7 separate regions of the Homo sapiens genome follow, and all the other regions are linked to region 2. The links are contacts of gene promoters, found by promoter capture Hi-C in blood cells and fetal thymus (Javierre and others, 2016). All regions are on one chromosome and are shown on one strand. The core of a region is centred on a gene start or on the middle of the fragment in contact, and the rest is flanking DNA. Distances in the headings are between cores, read along the strand shown.

Region 1 (3,507 bases), core at 662-3,161, 260 kb after region 2:
GTTGTTTGTGCCTGTTTTCACGCTGCGGCAGGAAAGTTGAGTCGTTGTGTCAGAGACCAGAGAGAGAGCCTGCAGAACCTCAAATACTATCTGGCCCTTGCCAGAAAAAGTTTACCAACCCCCTGCCTCCCTGGAATGGGTGGAGGGTGGTTGTAAAGGTACTGGAGGATCTGAAGACATAATAGGGTCCGTGACCCTTGTGAGGTTGTGAAGCTCCCTTAAGGCACATGGTGGCTGGGCTGTGGATTTGGGGTATGGGCAGAGAGTGTGGAGAGCACTTCCAGGGGCCATGTCTGAGAGACTACATGATGCCACTTTGAATGCCCAGTTTGTTCATCCTTTTCTGTTTTCCCCACTTCCCCAGATGGGTGATCTACAATGACCAGAAAGTGTGTGCCTCCGAGAAGCCGCCCAAGGACCTGGGCTACATCTACTTCTACCAGAGAGTGGCCAGCTAAGAGCCTGCCTCACCCCTTACCAATGAGGGCAGGGGAAGACCACCTGGCATGAGGGAGAGGGGCTGAGGGATGGACTTCAGCCCCTCTGCTCTGTACCCTTTTTCCTTTTGTCCCCGGCAGCAGGGAAGAAGCTGGAGGCCGTGGGAGAATGGCTGGGCAGAGCAGAGGGGCAGCGATAGACTCTGGGGATGGAGCAGGACGGGGACGGGAGGGGCCGGCCACCTGTCTGTAAGGAGACTTTGTTGCTTCCCCTGCCCCCGGAATCCACAGTGCTCTGCTTCTCTGTGTCGCCCCGCCCAGCCCCCTGGTGTGGAGGGAGGGGTCTCGTTTGTGCGCGTGGGTGTAGCTTTGTGCATCCTCTCCCAGTGGAGCGATCACCTGTGCCTCCCCTCCCCCTTTGTTTGCCCCTGTGTGGTTGGTCAAGGAGGGATGTGAGGGAAATAGGGACCCCCCGACTTGCCCTCCTGCCTCAGTCTTTCCCCCACCCTGTCTCTTCCTTGTCCTTCTCTGGAAAATGCCAAAATACACGATGTGAATAAAAGTACAACGGCTAAATTGTGTCCTGTTTGATACCTTGGGGGAGAGGCTTACCTTCCTGGGGTTAGCAGGAGGGCGCTTAAGAAAACTCCTAACTCTGGCCGCCTCCCTGCCAAAGTCAAGTCTCCACTTTTCACTGGTTCTAGAGCTCTAGGAAAATTGGGGTTGGGTGGGGAGGTGGAGTAGAGTGACTAAATGCCGACACAAAGCCAAGGAAAGATGGAGTGAAGAACCCTTCCCTCTCTTTATTCACACAGGAGTGGAGGATTTCCCAAATGTCCCTAACTGGCTAGCTGGCTTCAGGCTGGGACTCAGTCCCTGCAGTTCCTGCCAGGCCTTGCCAGCCGGGGCGAGGGTTGGGATGATCCTGGCGGCCTATGCCTGTGTGGGCTGCCCCTCCCGCTGTGAACCCTGCATTTGTCCCGCAAGTTTTCACTCAGGTAGACTCCCTGGGTACAAGGGTGCCTGCTCAGCAGTCGGGCATGAGCTGCTCCGATGGGCGAAGGAGGTTGTCTATCCCACAGTTGGAGAGGGGCCCTCTCTGCCCCAGTGGGCGATCTGGGCTACGGCCAAGTTGCCACCAGCTAGTTCCGCTTGAAAACCACTTCTGGCCCCGTGGGGGACTCAAGTCGCCAAGCGAGGGTTCCCCTGAGCGCCGGAGCTCACAGGTCTCGCCTTGTCCCGAAAGCCCCGCAATCGAGGCGGAGGCGACCGAGCCCCCGACTCTCCTAGAACGTTGCCACAAGAAGGGGGAACGTCGGAACAGTGCATCATCGGGCGGCGGCCGGGGCGGCGGCAGGAGGGCGGGCGGGGGGCAGGGCTCCGGGGGACTGGGCGGGCCATGGCGGAGGACGGCGAGGAGGCGGAGTTCCACTTCGCGGCGCTCTATATAAGTGGGCAGTGGCCGCGACTGCGCGCAGACACTGACCTTCAGCGCCTCGGCTCCAGCGCCATGGCGCCCTCCAGGAAGTTCTTCGTTGGGGGAAACTGGAAGATGAACGGGCGGAAGCAGAGTCTGGGGGAGCTCATCGGCACTCTGAACGCGGCCAAGGTGCCGGCCGACACCGGTAAGCCCTCGCCGAGGAGGGGTCTGGCCGGGCCGGGGCCGGGGCCGGGGCAGGAGTGGCAGCGCCCTCTCCCGAGGCCCCGAGGCCCCGAGGCCGGTATCCGCGCGGACCTGATGCAGGGCTGTGGGACGAGGGCCGCTGGGGTCCGGGCAGGGGCCTCGCAGCCGCAGCCCCGTCGGTGCGTCGAGGGGGCAGGGCGGAGCACATGATGCCCCTTGGACTATGGGGCAGGTAAGGACGTTTTGGGTCTCCTGGAGGAAGGTGGCCCCGGGGCGCGCACTGGGGCTGTGCCCGCCAGGCGACGGGGTTAGGAGCGGAGCCCGAGGCTCTGCGGGAGACCGGGGGAGGCTGGGCCGCGTGGGCTTCCCGCTCCCTGCGCCCTGGCCTCCCGCGCCGTGCGCCGCCGCACGTAGCCCCAGACTCCTCCCCTTCCTCGCCGGCGTCCGCGTCCCCGCGCCGAGCTGCTCGGGCTCCCTGAGCCCCAGATCTGACCCCTTCCCTTCGGCAACCTGAACGACTCCCGCCTTCCACGGAAGGGACCGAGCCCGTGCCAAACAGGCTGAGCGATTTGGGAGTGAGGAGCCATCCTACCGCTTTCCCCAACCTGGAAACAGCAAAGCGCAAGGCCTCTGAGTCAGTTAGGTCTCTGCCACCCACGGGCAAAGGATGCTCTCCTCCATCCTCCTTCCTCCCTCCACCGAAATCGGAGAGCCGCGGGCCTGATCCAAAGAGGCATCCCCTTCTCGTTCATTCCCCAGAGGCCTCAATACAAACCCCAGGAGTTGGCCCCTCTCCTTTTGCTACAAATCCTTGCCTTGCAAAGGGGAGGTGAGGATGGGCTATTTTAGAAGGGAAGCAGGGTTGCTCCCTGGAGAATGCTGAGTCTGTGAGGTGCCTATGCCGAGAATAGCTCGAGGAAATTGGAGCCCCAGCTGTTAAAAGAGCAGAGGGCAGGGTGAGGGCCGTGGCCTCTCAGGGGTATCTGGAAGGCTCTTCGAGTTGAGTGCAGACCCAGCCTGGGCTGGAAAATGGACAAAGGTCATCTTGCTGGGGTGAAAAGGGGGAGAGCAGAACCAAGAAGAAGAGGGTGAGGGCTGGGGGGCTCCAGGGCACTGGTTAGGAATTGTGGGGAATGAAGGCTTTCTTTAGTCTCATCCCCCTGTGGTACCATCTTGTCCTCAGAGGTGGTTTGTGCTCCCCCTACTGCCTATATCGACTTCGCCCGGCAGAAGCTAGATCCCAAGATTGCTGTGGCTGCGCAGAACTGCTACAAAGTGACTAATGGGGCTTTTACTGGGGAGATCAGGTGAGATCGAGGTGGAGAGGGGTGTGTGGGACCCTTCCCTCACTTTCCTCGTTGAGGGGAAAGCCACAGGGTGGGCTCCCTGCTGAACCTTGGCTTCATCTCTTCCTTTAGCCCTGGCATGATCAAAGACTGCGGAGCC
Region 2 (3,256 bases), core at 278-2,777:
CCACAGCAGCAACCACAGGATCCTACTAGCACAGATGCCCGGCTGGTCTTTCAAACAGAATCCTCAACGCCCCCCTCCACCACCACCACCACAAGCCTCCAGGGGTCCCAGCTACCTGCATTCCTCCGAGGACCCACATACCAGGTAATGCCTGCCAGCCCAGAGAGCTCCCTCAACTGGGAACTGCAGAGCATTCCTCAAGACAGAGTGCAGCAAGCTGGCATCTCCGTGCCCAGGAGGCACATGGCTTCCACCCCCCTCACACCAGAGCTCCGCAGAAGGGAACCACTCCCTTCGGATACCCTCCACCTCCGGCTCTGCACAGAGACAGCGGAGCAACACAGCCCTGCCTCACCAGAGGAGTCACTCGGGAGAGCCCCAGATGTCTCCTTCCCGCCATGGGCCCTTGGGGAAGATGTTACCTGGGTGGGGTGGGGGCAGGCTGTTGTTCAAAAGTGCATCCATATCCTCCTCCTCACTGCCCGCCGAGCAGGGGGACGGGGAGCCCAGGCCCGACGCCATCCCCTTCCGCTCCCGGCCAGGGAATTGGCCCAGCTGCTCCTGCCGGCGGCCTGAGGACCTCTACACTGGCCCGAGTCACTGTGCGGGGGAGGGGGGAGAAACACAGAACAGTCAGTGACGCGCACTGTCCCCCTCCCCCACACCCACCCGCTCTTTCCGCCCCCCACCCCAGCCACCCTAGCAGGGCACCCGAACCGCTCAGGCTGAACTTAGTTCCACACTCCTCGGGGGCAGCCCGGAAGCCGGCTCCCCGGCAGGCGCCCCCACGGAGCGAGGGAGCGACGCCTCCGAGGGCAGGCTGGTGCAAGCGCGGGGAGGGGAGACGCGGGGCTGGACCGAGCGGGGTGTGACGGGGGAGGGGGTCCGAGTGGCAGCGGCGCGGGGGGGCCAGGGGAGGCCGCAGGCGGCGAGGCGCTCGGGGACACAAGGTCACTTGGGGGTGGGGGGGCGCCTCCCTGCGCCCGGGGAGGGGCCAGTCCCCAGACAGGGCAGCTCTCCAAAGGCTGTCCTCTGGGACAACTCAGGTTCTCCTCAAGAGCTGCGGGGACGAGGGGGCGTGGAGGCTCGGGCGCTGCGGGGGGCCGGAGGCAGGGACGCGGGGGGCGAAAGCGTCCCACCGGGAAGGGGGCCGGGCCACGTGTCCCGGGGGGCAAGTGATCAAAGGGCGAGGGGGTGGGCGCCGGGCATTGTGGGAGACCAAGCCGGAGGCGGGGGGTCGCGGGGAGCAAGACTCCGGCAGGGTTAGGGCGGGGGCTGGGGAGGAGGCCGGGCGCCCTGCAGGGCCAGGAAAGGAAGGGTCGGCTCCTCTGGGCAAGGGGCGGTCCGCGGGTCCGGAGACGCCTGAGGAAGGGGCGGGTGACGGGATGACCCTCGGGGCTGGTAGGGCCGTGAGGGGCGTCTCTTTGGGAACCCCGCGCTCTCCTCACCCCGGAGCCGCCGCAGGTCGCGCTGGGTCCGGCTCGGTGTCACTCCCGCTCCGGCTCCTCCTCGCCGCGGCCGAAGGGGGGAAAATGGCTCCGGCTCCAGCGTCGCCTCTTAAAGGGCCTGAAACACCGGCCGGGAAATCCCACCGCACAGGCCCCGCCCCCCCACGGACAGCCCATAATAACCTCAACCAACTCCAACCCCCCCCTTCCACTACCGCCACCCTCCTCCCCAGGTCTCCCGGGCAACCCCCGCCCCCTCGTCGCTCAGGCAACCACTGGCCACGCCCCCTTCGCAGCGGGCGCGCGCGCGTCACCTGGGCAACCGCCCACCTCCTGGCCATCCCATAATACACACGGACACCCCCCCCCCCAACACACACACACACACACACACACACACACACACACACACACACAACACACACACACCCTGCCCCCCCACATTTCATACACATATGCCAGAGACTGCTGACATCTCAAAATATTGCAGACCTTTTGCAACTAACCCTCTTAGACATCCCATAATAGACATCCTTTGCCAACTTCTTCTTCACTCTTGGACCTAATGCTAACATCCCATAATAATTCATCACCCCTCCCTCCCCATGGCCATCCCATAATAAGCACCCCTCGCAGCACTTATGCCTCATATCCCATAATATTCAGCCCCATCCCCCACAGACATCCCATAATAACCATCCTTCATCCACCCCCAGTTTGATATCCCATAATAGTCAGAAACTCACCCCCCCCCATACTACAACAACGGACACTCGGCCTCCTCCCACACACATCCCGTAATAATCAGTCTCCCACTTTCTATACTGACATCCCATAATAACTAACCCCCTAGAGCTGCCCTCAGTCCCTGCAGGCCAGGGTCTAGAGGCTCACATCACCCCCAGCCTTCCCTCTTCTAGCTCCACAGCCTATAGTAAGTACCCCTCCTCTATCAAAAAGATAACCCATAATGATCAACAGCCCTACTGTCGCCCCACAGATGGACATCTAATCTCTTTTCCTCTAACACTGGAAAGCTATCCCATAATAATTTTACTCTCCTACCCACATCCTGACATCCCATAATAATTGCAAGGAGCCCGTGGTCAACCAAACATACCATAATACTCCCAACACAACCCAGTGTCACATCCCATAATGCTTCATCTCCACTCTACCACCCCTATACCCTTCGAGCCAGGCATCCCATAATATTCATATTCTTCCCACCCCCATCTCCAGGCGCTGTCAGTCTATTCTAACACCCAGAGCAGGGAGGGCCAGGCAGGCTACCCACGCTTCCTTGTCCCCGCCCCCACTTGCACACACCTTAATCCCTTTCTGGGCCAAAGTAGTATCCTGGCAAAAAGCCTCCTGATGTCTGGGACCCCAGCTTCCCTCATACCATCATTTCCAGACACTCGGGGGCTGGGAGCCCACCTAGGGCCCCACCCAGTCCCACCAAAATCTAGGTATTTTCCAGATGCTTACCTCCAGCTCCTAAGTTTTGAGGAACACCAACCAACCAAAATACCAAGCTGACAGATGAAACATTTACATGAAGTCTAATTCACCCTACAGCATCCCATAATAATTACCAACTCCCATCCAAAGACTATCTCTCAACATTCTAGCAATCCTCCCCCTCACCACATCCCCAGGTCAGGGATCTTTCACCAACACCCCCAGGCCATTCCTGGGGATGGACATCCCATCACGATGTGAACTCAGGTTCCTGCTCTATACACACCAAGAGTGAAGGCCTGCCCTCCCGCTACTCACCACTACTCATGTTCATTCAACCTGTG
Region 3 (3,642 bases), core at 381-2,880, 460 kb after region 2:
GCGTCCCACCTCAGCCTCCTGAGTAGCTGGGCCCACAGACGTGTGTCATCAAACCCAGCTAATATTTTTATTGTTATTCTTTTTTTTTTTACAGAGATGGGGTTTTGCTATGTTGCTCAGGATAGCCTGAAACTCCTAGCCTCAAGCAATGCTCCCACCTCGGCCTCCCAAAGTGCTGGGATTATAGGTGTGAGCCACTGCACTCAGCCTGAAGATAAAATTATCTTTTCTCCTGACCCTTATTTTCTTCTTATTTTATGTGACATTTAATGCCTCTTTTATTTGTATCTCCCACTTCCCAATTTTACCTCTTCCCTTTAGTTCTTTCCCTCTTCTGATTTCATCATTTTGTTCAGTTTGTTGCAGGAGATCGGCAATTTGGTCCTTACTGTGGTCATGGATTCCCTGGGCCTCTAAATATTGAAACCAAGAGTAATGCTCTTGATATCATCTTCCAAACTGATCTAACAGGGCAAAAAAAGGGCTGGAAACTTCGCTATCATGGAGATCGTGAGTAACTTAGAAGTGCCTCTTTGGTTGGTGATACCAAAGTCCCCAAACAATGTGGGATCAAAGCAGGTAGATGATCCAGGCACACTGGAAGCACCTGTGATCTCAGCTACCGAGGGAGGCTGAGGCAGGAGGATCCCTTGAGCCCAGGAAGTAGGAGTTTGAGTCCACTCTGGGCAACAGAGCAAAACCTTGTCTCTAAAACAAAACAAAAACAAAGCAACAATAATTTAAAAAACAGATAGATTGTTGTTCTGATAGAATCCTGAGATACTTCACTTCTTCAGGAAAATCTAAACCAGTCAACGGTTGCTAGAAATGCCTCAACCTCTAGTAATCCTTTAACTAGACCTGAGACTGCAGACAGCTTGCGGGTGGTTAGTTGGTAATGCCATATGATTTTAGACATCTGCTGTATTGGAATGTTAAGCATCAGGATTGAGGACAACTGGACGATTTTAGAAAGTGTGAGAATGATGTAAATAGAATGAGAGTCTTCAACTATTTAGTAATTTTTTCCTCCTGTCCCAACTTCTGTTCTTTCAAGCAATGCCCTGCCCTAAGGAAGACACTCCCAATTCTGTTTGGGAGCCTGCGAAGGCAAAATATGTCTTTAGAGATGTGGTGCAGATAACCTGTCTGGATGGGTTTGAAGTTGTGGAGGTAAAGTACCACCTTGGCTTCTCCCCAGTCCCTGGCCCCAGATCAGGATGAGCGGACTGAAATTGTCCAGTTGTTTACCCAATGTATGTGTGTGATCAAGGTATAACACCTTTCCCATAAACACAACAGCTTAAGATCTGTAGTTCTCCCTTGTGAGTCATGGAGCTGCCTGGCCAGCTTGGCATTCTCTCTGCCTTCAGTCTTCTTGAGGAAGGGGAGTTGACACGTTGGGGCAAAGCTTTCTGTCAGCCTCATCTCCTGGGTGCTTTAGGTCTGCTAAGATGTTCCCAAGCTTCTTGTGGTGAGGACTCCTCATTGATCCAAGGCCAGAGATCAATTCCAGTTTTGATTTTGGTTTCCCATATCTCTCTTCAGAAATAAGTGGTGATGTTTATTATTCTCCAGGGACGTGTTGGTGCAACATCTTTCTATTCGACTTGTCAAAGCAATGGAAAGTGGAGTAATTCCAAACTGAAATGTCAACGTATGTGTCTCTTCAAAGTGGAAGTCTTTCTTTTTCTCTCAGAGAGAATGGAAAGATCAGCACATCAAAATTCAAATGCATGGTTTCCTCTTAGGCATGTGAGGGAGTGGGTTGGGTTTTTGAAGGGAAGCCAGTCATGGAAGCTTTTCTAGTCCCAGCCCCGCATCTGGTCCCAGGCCAACTAGATCGGCATGTTTCTTTCCAAGAAAGGGGCTATGGGATAGGTCGAGTTAGTAGCCCCACGTGGGTGCATTTGTGGCTTCCACTGGGCCTTCACCAACCACTGAGAACCAGGCTCTTCACTACGGCTTTCATGGGGCCATCTGAATTGGCATCTCAGCGGGTGAGAGAGCTGAGAGATGCCAGTTGGGGAGGATGGCCACAGAGAGGCTGGTGTGGGGAGGTTCATCCCAGGTGTGCCTGTGGATATGGGGTGGGGAAGCAGTGAGGATGAACCTGGCCCCATGACTCTTCCTTGGAGGAAGTGGCTGTCCTGACCATCGCTCTCCTTCCTTCGTCTGGTAGCTGTGGACTGTGGCATTCCTGAATCCATTGAGAATGGTAAAGTTGAAGACCCAGAGAGCACTTTGTTTGGTTCTGTCATCCGCTACACTTGTGAGGAGCCATATTACTACATGGAAAATGGAGGAGGTGGTAGGTTTCTTCTACTGGAGAAGAGAGAGAGAGAGTGAGAAGGTGTTGGAGGGTGGATAGCATAATCTGTGCCAGAGACAGAGTTTGGAGACAAATGAAGGCGATAGGACAGACATTGTTCATCCCCTTGGCTTCGTCCAAAGATACAGTTTTCATCTGGAGCAGGGCAAGTTCAGGGGAGCATCAGCCTCAGGGAATCATAGAGGTCACCAACTGAGTTCACAGCTGCAGCAGGAATTCCCCTACAACATCCATTTCATGGGATTACCCACCTTTTGACCAGTTATTTCATGTAAAACCCACAGGAGCAATGCCTTCAGCTTTAAGCCACCAAACTACACTGACTGGCTTTCTTGATGTAGAGGCTTTGGTCATGCTAGGTGCAGGGCTGAATGAGACCCTAATACGTTCTCTGCATTGCTCTGTATTTATTTCGCCACTTTCCCGATGCCTTCTTTCCTTCTGCTTTGGAGATGTTCCCTTTGTCTCCCTGGCAGGCTAGAGGCCTGAGGGATTGTTTGGAGGAAGATATTTTTTTTCTGGCTGATTTAATCTGATTTACTACTTGAATCCTAGACGAGCTGAGGTTCTGAAGGAACGGGGCAGGGTGTTGGGGTCGGAGGGGGGAATGGAAGAAGGAAGATGTGGTGGTGAGTGTGGCCTGTGTTCTCTGTGCTATTCCAGGGGAGTATCACTGTGCTGGTAACGGGAGCTGGGTGAATGAGGTGCTGGGCCCGGAGCTGCCGAAATGTGTTCCAGGTAAGGAGGGCTGAGGCTTGGGGAGAGATGATAGCCATGGGTGACTGGGAGTCACCTTCTGAAAGCAACTGTAATCCTCTTGGGAAAGGACTGAACAGTGACCTGCCAGAGTCCAGCTCAGTGAGGTGGCAGTATCACTGTGCCGTGGGCTGCCAGGGCCGTGGGGAACCTCCTCAGCCGCACTGAAGCCAGGCCAACTGGAAGGAAATAGAAACGTCAGCCAGCGACAGTTGGTGTCTGGTAATGTAGCTGCAGTGAGAAGATACAGAACTGCTAAAAACAGGGCCTGAAAGCTGAGAGTGTGTGAGTAATCAACACTCAGAAACAAGTCTAGCTAAATAGCCTAGTTATTATATTAAAAGTTTATAGGGCAGCAAGATATAGAGGAATTCAAAGAATGAGGAAGATAAGAGTTGGGTAGCAGAAGGCTGAGGCAAATCCAATAGGATAATAACCATCCTGGGTGGTACTGAAAGCTGAAGACTGAGCTGATTTGTTGCATTTATTATCTCATTCGTGTCCGTATAACAGCCCTGTGAGCTAGGTGTCATTGGTCTTATCTGACCAATGTC
Region 4 (3,240 bases), core at 35-2,534, 280 kb after region 2:
GTAAAATGATCTATACAAGCTCCAAGGATGCAATCAAAAAGAAATTTCAAGGCATAAAACATGAATGGCAAACAAACGGACCAGAAGATCTCAATCGGGCTTGTACTGCTGAAAAGTTAGGTGGATCCTTTTTTTTTTTTTTTGAGATGGAGTCTTGATCTGTCGCCCAGGCTGGAGTGCAGTGACAGGATCTCGGCTCACTGCAACCTCTGCCTCCCGGGTTCAAGTGATTTTCCTGCCCAGCCTCCTGAGTAGCTGGGATTATAGCGTGCGCCACCACACCTGGCTAATTTTTGTATTCTTAGTAGAGTCAGGGTTTCACCATATTGGTCAGGCTGGTCTCGAACTCCTGACCTCGTGATTTGCCCTCCTTGGCCTCCCAAAGTGCTGGGATTACAGGCGTGAGCCAGCATGCCTGGCCAGTGGATCCTTAATTGTAGCCTTTGAAGGATGCCCTGTGTAGATCATCATTCAGTGCCACAAATTGAAAGCTTCCACGTTTAATGTTATCCTCTTGCTATATAAATAAAGCAAATATATTTAGGCCAGGGTCTCACTGAGGGGAGCTGTCTTGTCATCTTTTAGAGTAAACTAAATACTCTATAAACATATGCAAACAGCCCTAAATATATCTGTAGGGGTGGGTTGCCCCTCCACACCTGTGGGTGTTTCTCGTAAGGTGGGACGAGAGACTTGGGAAAGAAAAAGACACAAAGTATAGAGAAAGAAATAAGGGGACCCGGGGAAGCAGCGTTCAGCATATGGAGGATCCTGCCAGCCTCTGAGTTCCCTTAGTATTTATTAATCATTTGTGGGTGTTTCTCGAAGAGGGGGATGTGTCAGGGTCACAAGACAATTGTGGGGAGAGGGTCAGCAGACAAACACGTGAACAAAGGTCTTTGCATCATAGACAATGTAAAGGATTAAGTGCTGTGCTTTTAGATATGCATACACATAAACATCTCAATGCTTTACAAAGCAGTATTGCTGCCCGCAGGTCCCACCTCCAGCCCTAAGGCGGTTTTTCCCTATCTCAGTAGATGGAGCATACAATCGGGTTTTATACCAAGACATTCCATTGCCCAGGGACAGGCAGGTGACAGATGCCTTCCTCTTGTCTCAACTGCAAGAGGCATTCCTTCCTCTTTTACTAATCCTCCTCAGCACAGAACCTTTACGGGTGTCGGGATGGGGGATGGTCAGGTCTTTCCCTTCCCACGAGGCCATATTTCAGACTATCATATGGGGAGAAACCTTGGACAATACCTGGCTTTCCTAGGCAGAGGTCCCTGCGGACTTCCGCAGTGTTTGTGTCCCTGGGTACTTGAGATTAGGGAGTGGTGATGACTCTTAAGGAGCATGCTGCCTTCAAGCATCTGTTTAACAAAGCACATCTTGCACCGCCCTTAATCCATTTAACTCTGAGTTGACACAGCACATGTTTCAGAGAGCACGGGGTTGGGGGTAAGGTTATAGATTAACAGAATCTCAAGGCAGAAGAATTTTTCTTAGTACAGAACAAAATGGAGTCTCCTATGTCTACTTCTTTCTACACAGACACAGTAACAATCTGATCTCTTTTGCTTTTCCCCACATATATCTAAAGTCTAAAGTTGTTTTTTTAAAAAAAAAAAAGAAAAGAAAAGAAAAGAAAAAAGAAAATAGCCAGGCGCGGTGCTCACGCCTGTAGTTCTAGCACTTTGGGAGGCGAAAGTGGGTGGATTGTTTGAGCTCAGGAGTCCAAGACCAGCCTGGGCATCACGGTGAAACCCCATCTCTACTTTAAATATACAAAAAATTAGCCAGGCATGGCGGCGTGTGCCTGTAGTCCTGGCTACGAGGGAGGCTGAGGCAGGAGAATTGCTTGACCCTGGGAGGCAGAGGTTGCAGTGAGCCGAGATTGTGCCACTGAACTCCAGCCTGGGCCACAGAGCAAGACTCTGTCTCAAAAAAAAAAAAGAAAAGAAAAGAAAAGAAAAAAAATAAAGCCCTGTTGAGGACTTGTAATATATCAGGAATAATGCAAAAAAAAAATTATTCAGACATTTTGCAGCATGAAACACTTCAGTAAATTTATGAAGCTTTAGTTTGGTCTTTTCCTTTTTCTCCTGAGGGTGATTTTTATCAGTTCCTCAAGATTTTTTATTAGTGTTTCTCTGTGGCTCTCAAAAACTTCTTTATTTTTATGATTATTTCCTTATATTTTAGAGACTGGGTCTTACTCTGTCACACAGGCTGGAGTGCAGTGGCGAAGTAGCTCACTGTCACCTTGAGCCATGATCAAGGGATCCTCGGCTTCAGTCCCTCAAAGTGCTGGGATTACTGGCATGAGCCACCATACCTGGCCAGGCCAAGAAGTTCTTTACTTTCTTCCTCAATGATGTATAAACAAAGCCATCACGATCCACTTGCTAGGCGACTTGCACAATGAGTTTCACTTCTTTGTCAATAGAAACCCTTGGCCAGGCGCGGTGCTCACGCCTGTAATCCCAGCACTTTAGGAGGCCGAGGTGGGTGTATCAGTTGAGGTCAGGAGTTCAAGACCAGCCAGGCCAACATGGTGAAATAATACTAATAATGTAAAATAATATCTCTACTAATAATACAAAAATTAGCCAGGCATGGTGGCACATGCCTGTAATCCCAGCTACTTGGGAAGGTGAGGCAGGAGAATTGCTTGAACATGGGAGGTGGAGGTTGCAGTGAGCTGAGATCACACCACTGCATTCCCGTCTGGGCAACAGAGCAAGACTCTGTCTCAAAACACAAAAAACAAAAAAAAAAAAGAGAAAGAAACCCTTAAAATTCTGAACACATTCCACATGCATTGACTGTCAGGCTTCGTTGCTTCCATTACCTGTTTGTTTGTTTGTTTGTTTATTTATTTATTTATTGAGACAGGGTCTTGCTGTATCACCCAGGCTGGAGTGCAGTAGCATGAGCATGGCTCACTGCAGCCTCAACTTTCCCAGGCACAGGTGATCCTCCTGCCTGCACCTCCTGAGTAGCTGGGACTACAGGTGCACACCACCACGTTCAGCTAATTTTCTGCAGAGATGAGGTCTTGCCATGTTGCCCAGGCTGGTCTTGAACTCTTGGACTCAAGAGATCTGCAGCCTCCCAAAGTGCTGGGATTACAGGCGTGAGACACCACACCTGGCCTCCCATTGCCTGTTTAAATAGAAATGATGCAACTAGCAATATGGAAGGACTTCCAGATCTTTACCACATTAAGATTAG
Region 5 (3,189 bases), core at 387-2,886, 300 kb after region 2:
GGGGTTATAAGCTAGGGACTGTGGATGAAAACCGATATATATATTATATATTATATAATTATATATTATATATAAATATATATTATATATTATATAATTATATATTATATATAATATATAATTACATATAATATATAATATATAATTATATATTATATATTATATATTATATATAAAATATATAATATATAATTATATATTATATATAATATATAATTATATATAATATATATAATTAGATATAATATATAATTATATATTATATATAATTATATATAATATATTATATATAATTATATATAATACATAAATATATATAATAGTATATATTATATATAATATATATAATATATAAATATATATAATAGTATATTATATATAATATATTTTATATAATATATAAATATTATATATAATAGTATATTATATATAATATATAAATATTATATATAATAGTATATAATATATAATATATAATATATATTTTATATATTATATAATATATTATATATTATATATATAATAACTCCACAGGAAGCCACTGAAATATTTAGTCTTTTAGACTCTTAAGCTTCGTTATTCTGGGATGGTGCTGATGCCAATCCTCAGTGGTGGCCTGGGGGCTCCTGGGCCGGGTAGGGGTGGGTTGAAGCATCTCCTCCATCCCAAGTGGCTTTGATGGGGCGAATGGTAGAGGGTTACTGCTGACCTTTCTCTGGGATGGCAGCTTCTCCTGAACTTCTTTACTTTCTATACTGATCTCTACTCACCCCCACTCCTTTCTTCCACTCCTCCCTCTCTACCTCTTGGATTTCCTCTTTTGCTTTATCTCATTCTGACTTCTCTTTCTTCCCTATCCCTGCTCCCTCTCAATCAATCCACTGTGCCCTGGGGGTCTAGGCCCAAAACATGCTGAAGAAGGTGGAAGGCTTGGAGGATCTGAGCAATCTCACCACCTTGCATCTTCGAGACAACCAGATTGACACCCTGAGTGGCTTCTCCAGAGAAATGAAATCATTGCAGTACCTCAACCTGAGGTATGCACCCTCTCCAAGCCCCACCTTGCCCCTACCCCTGACCAGGTGCAGCTTTTGAGTCTGTGTTCTTCCCTGGCCCAATCCCCCAGTCCTAGCCCACAGCTGGATTCTCAAGGAAAGCCCGGCTTTCCTTCCTTTCTTCTGCACTGAGTTGCAACACTAAATCCCTTATAGCTTGTGACCCCTGAATTTTTATTCATTCAATCCACAATTATTGAGAATGTGCTATGTGCCAGGCCTTGTGCTGTGTTTTGGGGACATTTAAAGCAATCAGAGGCTGGGCATGGTGGTTCATGCCTGTACTCCCAGCACTTTAGGAGGAAGGATCACTTGAGGCCAGGAGTTCAGGACCAGCCTGGGCAACCTAGTGAGACCATGTTTCTACAGAAGTGAAAATAATGGCCCGGCATGGTGGCTCACACCTGTAGTTCTAGCACTTTGGGAAGCCGAAGTGGGCAGATCGTTGGAGCCTAGGAGTTCAAGACCAGTCTGGGCAACATGGCAAAATCCCATCTCTACCAAAAATACAAAAATTAGCCAGGCATGGTGACAGGCACCTGTAATCCCAGCTACTCAGGAGACTTAGGCGGGAGGATCGCTGGAGCCTCGAGGTGGAGTTTGCAGTGAGCTGAGATAAAGCCGCTGCACTCCAGCCTGGGTGACAGAGCCAGACCCTGCCTCAAAAACAAAACAAAAATAAAATATTAAATAAAAATTAAAATATTAAATTAAAAATAAAAATTAACTGAGCCTGGTGGTGCACACCTGTGGTTTCAGCTACTCAGGAGGCTGAGGTTGGAGGATCACTTGAGCCCAGGAGTTCAAGGTTGCAGTGAGCCATGATTGTGCCACTGCACTCCAGCCTGGGTGACAGAGTGAGCTGTCTCTAAAAGAAAGAAAGGAATCAGAGGTGATTCCTGTTCCTAAGGGGCTCACAGTCTGGCTCCAACTCTTTTTTCCTCACCCTATCCTATATAAGTTTCCACTGCCCTTCTCCATTTCCTCGGTCCCAATTCACCTTCCCATTTCCTGCCTCTCTTCTCCTGAGCCCCACCTGTAAGGGATGACCTTTTTACTGATTAAAAAAACACAAGATGTGCTCAGATTTGAGGAGAGAAGGACATTTGTAAGAAAATCTTTTGGTAGAAAGGCACTGAAGATCAGCAACTCTTGTCGGATGGAGGACTTTATGTGTGTTTATTTCAGCAAACATGTAAGGAAACTGCCTCTTTCCTTAGTCAACAAGACCAGATTCTTGAGCTGGTAATGGAAAGAGCATCTCCAAGTAGGGAGAGGTGGTTGCATCTGGAAGCCCCAACTCTCATCCTGACCCCCTGGGCATTCTCTTATTCATGAACTCTGCCACACGGATCTGGTGGGGTGTGTATCTGTGCCATCTTCCTGTTAATGATCTAGACAGGCATGATGGACCCTTCCTGAGTGGCTATTAAATGGGGATGTTTTGAGAGTAAGTCGGGTGTGTGTGTGGAGGGGGGTGAGGGTGTCTCAATGATTGGCAGGTGCCTCTGGGGCCAGAGATGCTAAGCATCCAACAATGTATGGCAGAGTCCAGTACAAAGTTCCTGTAGCCCTCCTGGTGAGAAACACTGCATGAGGCTCAGCACGACCATGAGATCAGGCTGAAACACTTAAATAGATTTCATAAAAGCTTAAAGCCAGAACATGAAAATAAATAAAATTCCAGGCATGGTGGCTCACGCCTGTAATCCCAGCACTTTGGGGGGGCCAAGGCAAGAGGACTGCTTGAGGCCAGGCGTTCAAGACAAACCTGGGCAACATAGTGAGACCCAGTCTCTACAAAAAATTTAAACATTAGCCAGGTGTGGTGGCACATGCCTGGAGGTACTTAGGAAGCTAAGGTGAGAGGATCACTTGAGCCCAGGAATTCAAGGCTGCAGTGAGCTATGATCATGCCACTGCACCCCCAACCGGGGTGACATAGTGAGACCCTGTCTCAATAAAAATAAAATAAAAACAGAGTATCATATAATGAGGCACATTAGGAGATGAAGTTTATTCTTCAGGTTGGGAGGCTCCAACCCATCCATAGCCTTAGGTTCTCTTTGTGGAGAGCACGAACCGAGCATCCACCACCCTAAACTCCAGCTTAGATCCCAGTTCCTTGTCCACT
Region 6 (3,139 bases), core at 112-2,611, 280 kb before region 2:
AGGTTTAGTGCCACAGCCTTAGGGAGACATTGCAAAAAGGGACAAAAAACAAAGGAGAAGAAAGGACCTAAAGAAGAGGGAAGAGGCCGGGCGCGGTGGCTCACGCCTGTAATCCCAGCACTTTGGGAGGCCGAGGCGGGCCGATCACGAGGTCAGGAGATTGAGACCACGGTGAAACCCCATCTCTACTAAAAAAGACAAAAAATTAGCCGGGCGCGGTGGCGGGCACCTGTAGTCCCAGCTACTCGGGAGGCTGAGGCAGGAGAATGGCGTGAACCCGGGAGGCGGAGCTTGCAGTGAGCCGAGATCGCGCCACTGCACTCCAGCCTGGGCGACAGAGCGAGACTCTGTCTTAAAAAAAAAAAAAAAAGAAGAGGGAAGAGAAGGGGGAGCCTTAGGGATACTTTGGTTAAAGTCTATACTGAATTCAGAAAAATCCAGGTTCAGACACCGGTCCTACCAGGTCCTAGCCATGTGACCTTGGGTAAGTTATATGACCTCCCTCAACTTCAATTTCGTCATCTGCAAAACAGATATACACAATGACTACCTGCTTCCTAGGGAGATTCAAAGCTGTCATTCGGCTTAGGCACACAGCCTGGGGCCAGCACTGGGCACAGGCTCAGGAACTCCAGATACCCAGCGGCAAAGAGCACAGTTGGCCTCCCGAAGCTTCAGTTTGGAACACTGCATTGGCAATGGGACCCCAGACAGAAATGCAGTCATTAGAAAGGGAAAGGGAAATGTGTTTGTTTAGTTATTGCTTCCTCAGTGAGGTGGCTTTACTGTAGGAATATTTAAACAGCAGCGCTTTGAAATTGAGGCAGCCAAGATATAACCTAGTGGAGATATCTTAGGGGCTTTGGGAACAAAAGAAACAGAAACAAAGACCTGGAATTCAAGTGAAAGAGGAGGACAAAAAACACACCCCAAGGGGAGGCAGGTGGGTTTTGTGATGACAGTGGTCTCCCATCTGCCCTGTCCCCTGCTTCCGGCTCGGTTCACTGTCCCCTCTGCATGGCAGGGACTTCTCTCCACCACTTCCACCTAAGCCTAAACACACTTTCCACTAGGCTGGACTGACTGGCAAGTGACATCATTCTGGTGGTTAATCAAATTTTCTTGGCCAGGCGTAGTGGCTCACCTCCTCTAATCCCAGCACTTTGAGAGGCTGAGGCAGGCAGATGGCTTGAGACCAGAAGTTCAAGACCCAGCCTGGCCAACATGGCAAAACCCCATCTTTACAAAAAATACAAAAATTAGCTGGGCCTGGTGGCGCATGCCTGTAGTCCCAGCTACTCGGGAGGCTGAGGTGGGAGGATCACTTGAACCCGGGAGATAGAGCCTGCGGTGAGCTATGTTCCCACCACTGCACTACAACCCAGACAACAGGGTGAGACCTTGTCTAAAAAAAAAAAAAGTTAAATAAAACATTTTCCTGAAGGCTAGAGGCTCAAGGGGGAGCCCAGGGACAAAAGCGCAAGCTAGTGGCATCGGTGTCCCTAGAGCCCCAACTCCCCAGGATAGCCAGTGGGGCTGGCAGTGAATGGCAGGCTGCCTTTTTTCCTTCGGAACTGCCACCTCCACCTTCAGAACTTTCTCCTCTTTTTTTTGGTTTTTAGTCACAGAACAACAGCCAGACTCTCACCTTCTCCCTTTCAGAATCCCAAGAGCTACTGAAAATTACGGGTATTTTACTATGCAAAACAACTCAGTCCCCTGGTAGTCTCACTCCAGGCTAACAGGAAAGATCTGTCAAGATCTATAACCAAGATATGCACCAAGGCTCCCTGGCCTTCCTTAGCAAAACAAAGAAAACTGAAACTTTGAAATGACTTTTCCTGCTATTGTCTCACACCAGATTATTAGGGAATCCTCTCTAGAGCCATCAGTCTTTATACACTGAAGAGGGCAGTAGAAACTCTGTTGGTCCCTTTCATAGAGCAATCCCCAGGGGGCAGACTATTGTTTTCTCACCCTGGCAGAAACGTTGACTTGCAGATTTATTCCTAGCGGGTCTAGCTGTGATGACTCACACTTTTAGAGAAAGTAAGCTTCTCCAGGGAGAAGAGACTGAATCTTGGGGAATGCCCAGGGACTGAGAAGAGGAAAAGGAACAGAGACAGGAACAGAAAGAGCCGTCAGAGATGGCGACCAAGAAATTAAAGCAGGGAGACTGAAGGAGGCAGCCGAGGCTAAGAGCCAGGGTCTGAAGGAGAGGCCCGAGCAGCTGTCAGGGAGTTACTTCACCTCTTGGGGAGTTGCAGTGCACGCAGGACAGACAGTCCGCAAGTGGCCAGGCACAAGGCCCAGCACTGTATGGGCACTCCATAAATGTTTGCCGTTGTCATCATTAGAAGAAAGGGGTGGTCTTTGGGGCCTGGGTAGGGCCTGCTGCTGACTGGGGAAACGCATCCGCATCTGTTGCTCAGGAAGTCAGTGGGCACGTTTCAGAGTTCGGTTTTAGTCCGGCACTGGGGAGTTCTGGGAGGAGAGTGGGTGAATCTAGGAGCCACCCCAGAGACAGCAGGGAAAGGAGGCATTTCCTCTCCATGGGTACAAAGGAAGAAGAATCCTGCTAGGGGCCCTCCCTTCCTCTTCTCAGTTTTGTAGGGGGGTCACATTCTGGCTTAAGCGCCAATTTCCTTTTCCTTTCCCGTCCCCTCTGCCCCCATGTGTCTCTCCTCTTAACCAAGCCGAGAAAATTCTCCCAGGGTTGCTGGAGAGGCTTTGGGCTCGCTGGGAGGCACCTCCAAGAGCCCCATCCCGCCCATTCCCCCGACCCCCTACCCCGTACTCGGGGCTCCCCCTCGCCCCCCTCCCCCCCCCGCCGCCTCCTCCAGCCTCTTCCTGGGGTCGGGCAAGGGGCAAGTTTAGCAGAGATGATGGCATTGAACGTCCCTTACAGAAACCCTGCTTCCTTCCAGTTCTTCTTTCCCGTAACATCCCTTCCTTGGCACCCGAAACACAAACCTGAATTTGGGTCCTGTGGGGCAAAAGGGCACCCCAGCAGGACAAGCAGATCGGCCCAGCGCCTCCACCCTCTCTTTTCTCACTTCTTCCCTCCCTTCACATGGAGTTGGGAGATGAGGCCTGGGAAAGAGGGAGTCCTGCCCCAGGTCCCGGCCCTGGCAGGTTT
Region 7 (3,164 bases), core at 665-3,164, 400 kb after region 2:
TTTTTTGTTTGTTTTCTCCCAGGCTATAGTACAGTGGCGTGATCTTGGCTCCCTGCAACCTCTGTCTTCCAGGTTCAAGCAGTTCTACTGCCTCAGCCTCCTGAGTAGCTGGGATTACAGGTGTGTGCTACCACACCCAGTTAGTTTTTGTATTTTTAGTAGAGATGGGGTTTCACCATGTTGCCCAGGGTGGTCTCCAACTCCTGACCTCAAATGATCCGCCCACCTTGGCCTCCCAAAGTGCTGGGATTACAGGCGTGAGCCATGGTGCCTGGCCGATGGTATACATTTTAAAAATAAATGTATGCTATCTAGGAGTTCCCATGTTTTGCTATTATTTCCTATTCTTTCAGAGCACCAATAGTCAATGAAGAATTAAAAGTGAAGTCAGATTATCCTTTAGCTAAAGAATGGGGATTTCTAGTAGTACGGTTCAATATTTTTGGTCAGGGCCCCATATGTTTATACTCCAACTTTAATCAATCTTTTCCACTTCTGACTGAGGGATATGCTGTAGGAACTTTATGTGTACTATTTCAGTTGGCCTCTGCTGGCTTATAAACAGTAGTTGATATTTAGGGACAGTAATCCAGAGTAGTGTCCAAGTCCATCTGAGTTTAGAATTGCTACCACAGCAGAAATTGGAAACCTCGAGAGTTATAAGCCATTTACCACATCTACATGGATGCCACTTCTCCTTAAAGCATATACAAATATATAGAGATCGGAACTTTAACCTTCTGGGATCTAATATCTTCCTAAGATTTGCATACAGAATGTACACATGGATCTTCTATTATAGCAAATTCTTTTTTTTTTGAGACGGAGTTTTTGCTCTTGTTGCCCAGGTGGAGTGCAATGGCGCGATCTCGGCTCACTGCAACCTCTGCCTCCCGGGTTCAAGTGATTCTCCTGCCTCAGCCTCCCAAGTTGCTGGGATTACAAGCGCCTGCCACCATGCCCGGCTAATTTTTTGGATTTTTTTTTTTAGTAGAGACAGGGTTTCGCCATGTTGGCCAGGCTGGTCTCAAACTCCTGACCTCAGGTGATCCACCCACCTTGGCTTTCCAAAGTGCTGGGATTACAGGTGTAAGCCACCGCGCCTGGCCAGCAAATTCTTAATTGCCTGTAAAATTACTATCTCACTATGTATTATTTTCGGAAGCAGATATGACCGTGTACAGTTTTCTTATAAAAGTGCCATAGCAACATGAATACTCAGTACTGACAAGCATCTTTAATTGACAAAAGCTTTTTTTTTTTTTTTTTTTGAGACGGAGTCTCACTCTGTCCCCCAGGCTGGAGTGCAATGGTACGATCTCGGCTCACTGCAACCTCCCCCTCCCAGGTTCAAGCGATTCTCCTGCCTCAGCCTCCCGAGTAGCTGGGATTACAGGCGTGCACCACCGTGCCCGGCTAATTTTTGTATTTTTAGTAGAGACAGGGTTTCACCATGTTGGTCAGACCAGTCTCAAATTCCTGACCTCAGGTGATCCACCCACCTCAGCCTCCCAAAGTGCTGGGATTACAGGCATGAGCCACTGTGCCCGGCCATGACAAAAGCTTTTTATTTTTAATTTAATCTTAGCCTATGGTTAAAGTGAAGCATTTAAATAGCCTACTTGATGACTTCATGTGAGCCAAGAACAAAACCTGGGTCTGATAATCTTCTACCTACTCTCTGACAAACTGTCCCTACAATTATAATGCAATGACATTTCTATGAGCAGCCTCTATTACTAACAGTTATTATACACTTGGTTCTTATACAGAATACTTCATTCAAGATGTCCAGAGCTTCATCTAGCTCACTATCTTCAAAGCTTCTGCTTGCAAAGGGAGGAACTTACACCATCAGTCCATTTTAAGCCAAAAGGAAATTCTTACCCAGAAATTAATTACTTATCCTTTTTTTAGTGTGTTACTCTCCACACCCCCTTCCTGTTTTGAAAGCAGGGAGAAATAATGATGTATACAGTATCTTCTGAACTATACAAATTACAGATAAGCTTTAAAGGTCTCTAGGAAGCTACTACTGTTTCACCATAAGAACTCCAAGTGGGCCCTAAATCTCCTGGTCCTTGACTTCAGCCACTGCTAGGAAAATGTCAATACACACACACTCCTATCTTAAAAACTCTGTGCTTGAGAAGAAGGATGGTTTGCTTTGATATTAGACTAGCTTTCCCTGGCAGCTGCAACTAGGGAACCTAATTTTTGTTAAAGCTACAAGTCACAATTTATTACTTATATTAAGAAACGTAAGGAGATCAATCAGGAGAATGCTATATTGCTTAAGGTGGTTGATGCAACACAAAAAAGATGGAGCCATTAGTCCAATAACCTTATTAAAAAAATTCCTCCTCTGGGTGTGGTGGCTCACGCCTGTAATCCCAGCTACTCCGGAGGCTGAGGCAGGAGAATTGCTGGAACCTCGGAGGTGGAGGTTGCAGTGAGCTGAGATTGTACCTCTGCACTCCAGCCTGGGCAACAAAGTGAGACTCCATCTCAAAAAAAAAACAAAAAACACAACTCCTCTGTATCTAACCTTCTTATCAAAAGTGTGAAACAGATGGTGTATGTGATGATCATGATAATGAACATAATAACAATGTGAACATAATAACAATGTGAACATAATAACAACAACATCTCTTTATTCCTCAGATAACATCCAGAGCAGGAACTCTGGAGTCAGGCAGAACTGAATGTGACTTTAAGCAAGTTACTCAATTTTTGTAGGCCCAACTTTCCTATCTGTCAGGCCTACAAATGGGAAAAACTAAACCATAAGGAATCTAAGAGTTTTGTTTATTCCAAAGAGTACAGGATACAATGACCTTTCTTTTTTTTTCTGTCACCCAGGCTGGAGTGCCATGGTGCAATCTCGGCTCACTACAACCTCTGCCTCCTGGGTTCCAGCGATTATCCTGTCTCAGCTTCCCAAGTAGCTGGGACTACAGGCATGTGCCACCATGCCCAGCTAATTTTTATCTTTTTAATAGAAATGGGTTTCACCATGTTGGCCAGGCTAGTCTCCAACTCCTGACCTCAGGTGATCTGCCTGCCTCGGCCTCCCAAAGTGCTGGGATTACAGGCGTGAGCCACCGCGCCTGGCCAATGACATTCCAAAAAGGTACTATCAGGACATCAAGTACTACAAA

What was found. Contacts are between HindIII fragments. The CHiCAGO score rates a contact against its expected background, and 5 or more counts as called.
Region 1: the fragment with the promoter of TPI1 here is called in contact with the fragment with the promoter of CHD4 in region 2 in 2 of 17 cell types (activated CD4 T cells and naive CD4 T cells); the score reaches 7.5 in activated CD4 T cells.
Region 3: a contact is called between a fragment that was not itself captured here and the fragment with the promoter of CHD4 in region 2, in 1 of 17 cell types (activated CD4 T cells). The highest score is 6.8, in activated CD4 T cells.
Region 4: a fragment that was not itself captured here is called in contact with the fragment with the promoter of CHD4 in region 2 in 3 of 17 cell types (naive CD4 T cells, total CD8 T cells and activated CD4 T cells); the score reaches 6.3 in naive CD4 T cells.
Region 5: a contact is called between a fragment that was not itself captured here and the fragment with the promoter of CHD4 in region 2, in 5 of 17 cell types (naive CD4 T cells, activated CD4 T cells, non-activated CD4 T cells and 2 more). The highest score is 9.1, in naive CD4 T cells.
Region 6: a fragment that was not itself captured here is called in contact with the fragment with the promoter of CHD4 in region 2 in 4 of 17 cell types (total CD4 T cells, naive CD8 T cells, non-activated CD4 T cells and 1 more); the score reaches 7.0 in total CD4 T cells.
Region 7: a fragment that was not itself captured here is called in contact with the fragment with the promoter of CHD4 in region 2 in 1 of 17 cell types (activated CD4 T cells); the score reaches 5.9 in activated CD4 T cells.

Annotation. Positions count from the first base shown.
Region 1 is chr12:6,865,620-6,869,126 of GRCh38, forward strand. TPI1 (triosephosphate isomerase 1) reads left to right here and starts at 1,912. Exons shown (of 7, transcript NM_000365.6): 1 at 1,912-2,062; 2 at 3,245-3,368; 3 at 3,480-3,507. The coding sequence starts at 1,948. It overlaps USP5 (ubiquitin specific peptidase 5), which reads left to right. Exons shown (of 20, transcript NM_001098536.2): 20 at 365-1,013. The coding sequence ends at 458. RefSeq lists enhancers at 165-827, 828-1,489 and silencers at 1,759-1,808, 2,079-2,518. The HindIII fragment of the contact is 21,039 bases long and covers 1-3,507 here.
Region 2 is chr12:6,605,852-6,609,107 of GRCh38, forward strand. It overlaps CHD4 (chromodomain helicase DNA binding protein 4), which reads right to left and starts at 1,528. Exons shown (of 40, transcript NM_001273.5): 1 at 1,449-1,528; 2 at 423-600. The coding sequence starts at 522. It overlaps LOC124902867 (a long non-coding RNA gene), which reads left to right and starts at 35. Exons shown (of 2, transcript XR_007063193.1): 1 at 35-144. RefSeq lists enhancers at 99-258, 1,999-2,148 and silencers at 609-658, 839-898, 1,309-1,408. The HindIII fragment of the contact is 30,599 bases long and covers 1-3,256 here.
Region 3 is chr12:7,065,461-7,069,102 of GRCh38, forward strand. C1S (complement C1s) reads left to right here. Exons shown (of 12, transcript NM_001734.5): 7 at 357-510; 8 at 1,058-1,173; 9 at 1,579-1,657; 10 at 2,183-2,311; 11 at 2,996-3,070. Among named protein-coding and RNA genes, the nearest start is that of C1S, 6.6 kb to the left of the region's middle. The HindIII fragment of the contact is 335 bases long and covers 1,464-1,798 here.
Region 4 is chr12:6,885,227-6,888,466 of GRCh38, forward strand. All of the region lies in intron 1 of LOC105369632 (a long non-coding RNA gene), which reads right to left. It also overlaps the pseudogene DSTNP2. Among named protein-coding and RNA genes, the nearest start is that of SPSB2, 14 kb to the left of the region's middle. RefSeq lists an enhancer at 928-1,475. The HindIII fragment of the contact is 1,590 bases long and covers 490-2,079 here.
Region 5 is chr12:6,908,990-6,912,178 of GRCh38, forward strand. It overlaps LRRC23 (leucine rich repeat containing 23), which reads left to right. Exons shown (of 8, transcript NM_001135217.2): 6 at 901-1,037. Among named protein-coding and RNA genes, the nearest start is that of ENO2, 4.0 kb to the right of the region's middle. The HindIII fragment of the contact is 2,135 bases long and covers 570-2,704 here.
Region 6 is chr12:6,321,473-6,324,611 of GRCh38, forward strand. The region is part of intron 13 of PLEKHG6 (pleckstrin homology and RhoGEF domain containing G6); the gene reads left to right. Among named protein-coding and RNA genes, the nearest start is that of PLEKHG6, 12 kb to the left of the region's middle. RefSeq lists enhancers at 1,460-2,001, 1,890-1,959, 2,010-2,099, 2,543-3,084, 3,085-3,139. The HindIII fragment of the contact is 1,382 bases long and covers 671-2,052 here.
Region 7 is chr12:7,006,242-7,009,405 of GRCh38, forward strand. All of the region lies in intron 1 of LPCAT3 (lysophosphatidylcholine acyltransferase 3), which reads right to left. Among named protein-coding and RNA genes, the nearest start is that of LPCAT3, 11 kb to the right of the region's middle. The HindIII fragment of the contact is 186 bases long and covers 1,822-2,007 here.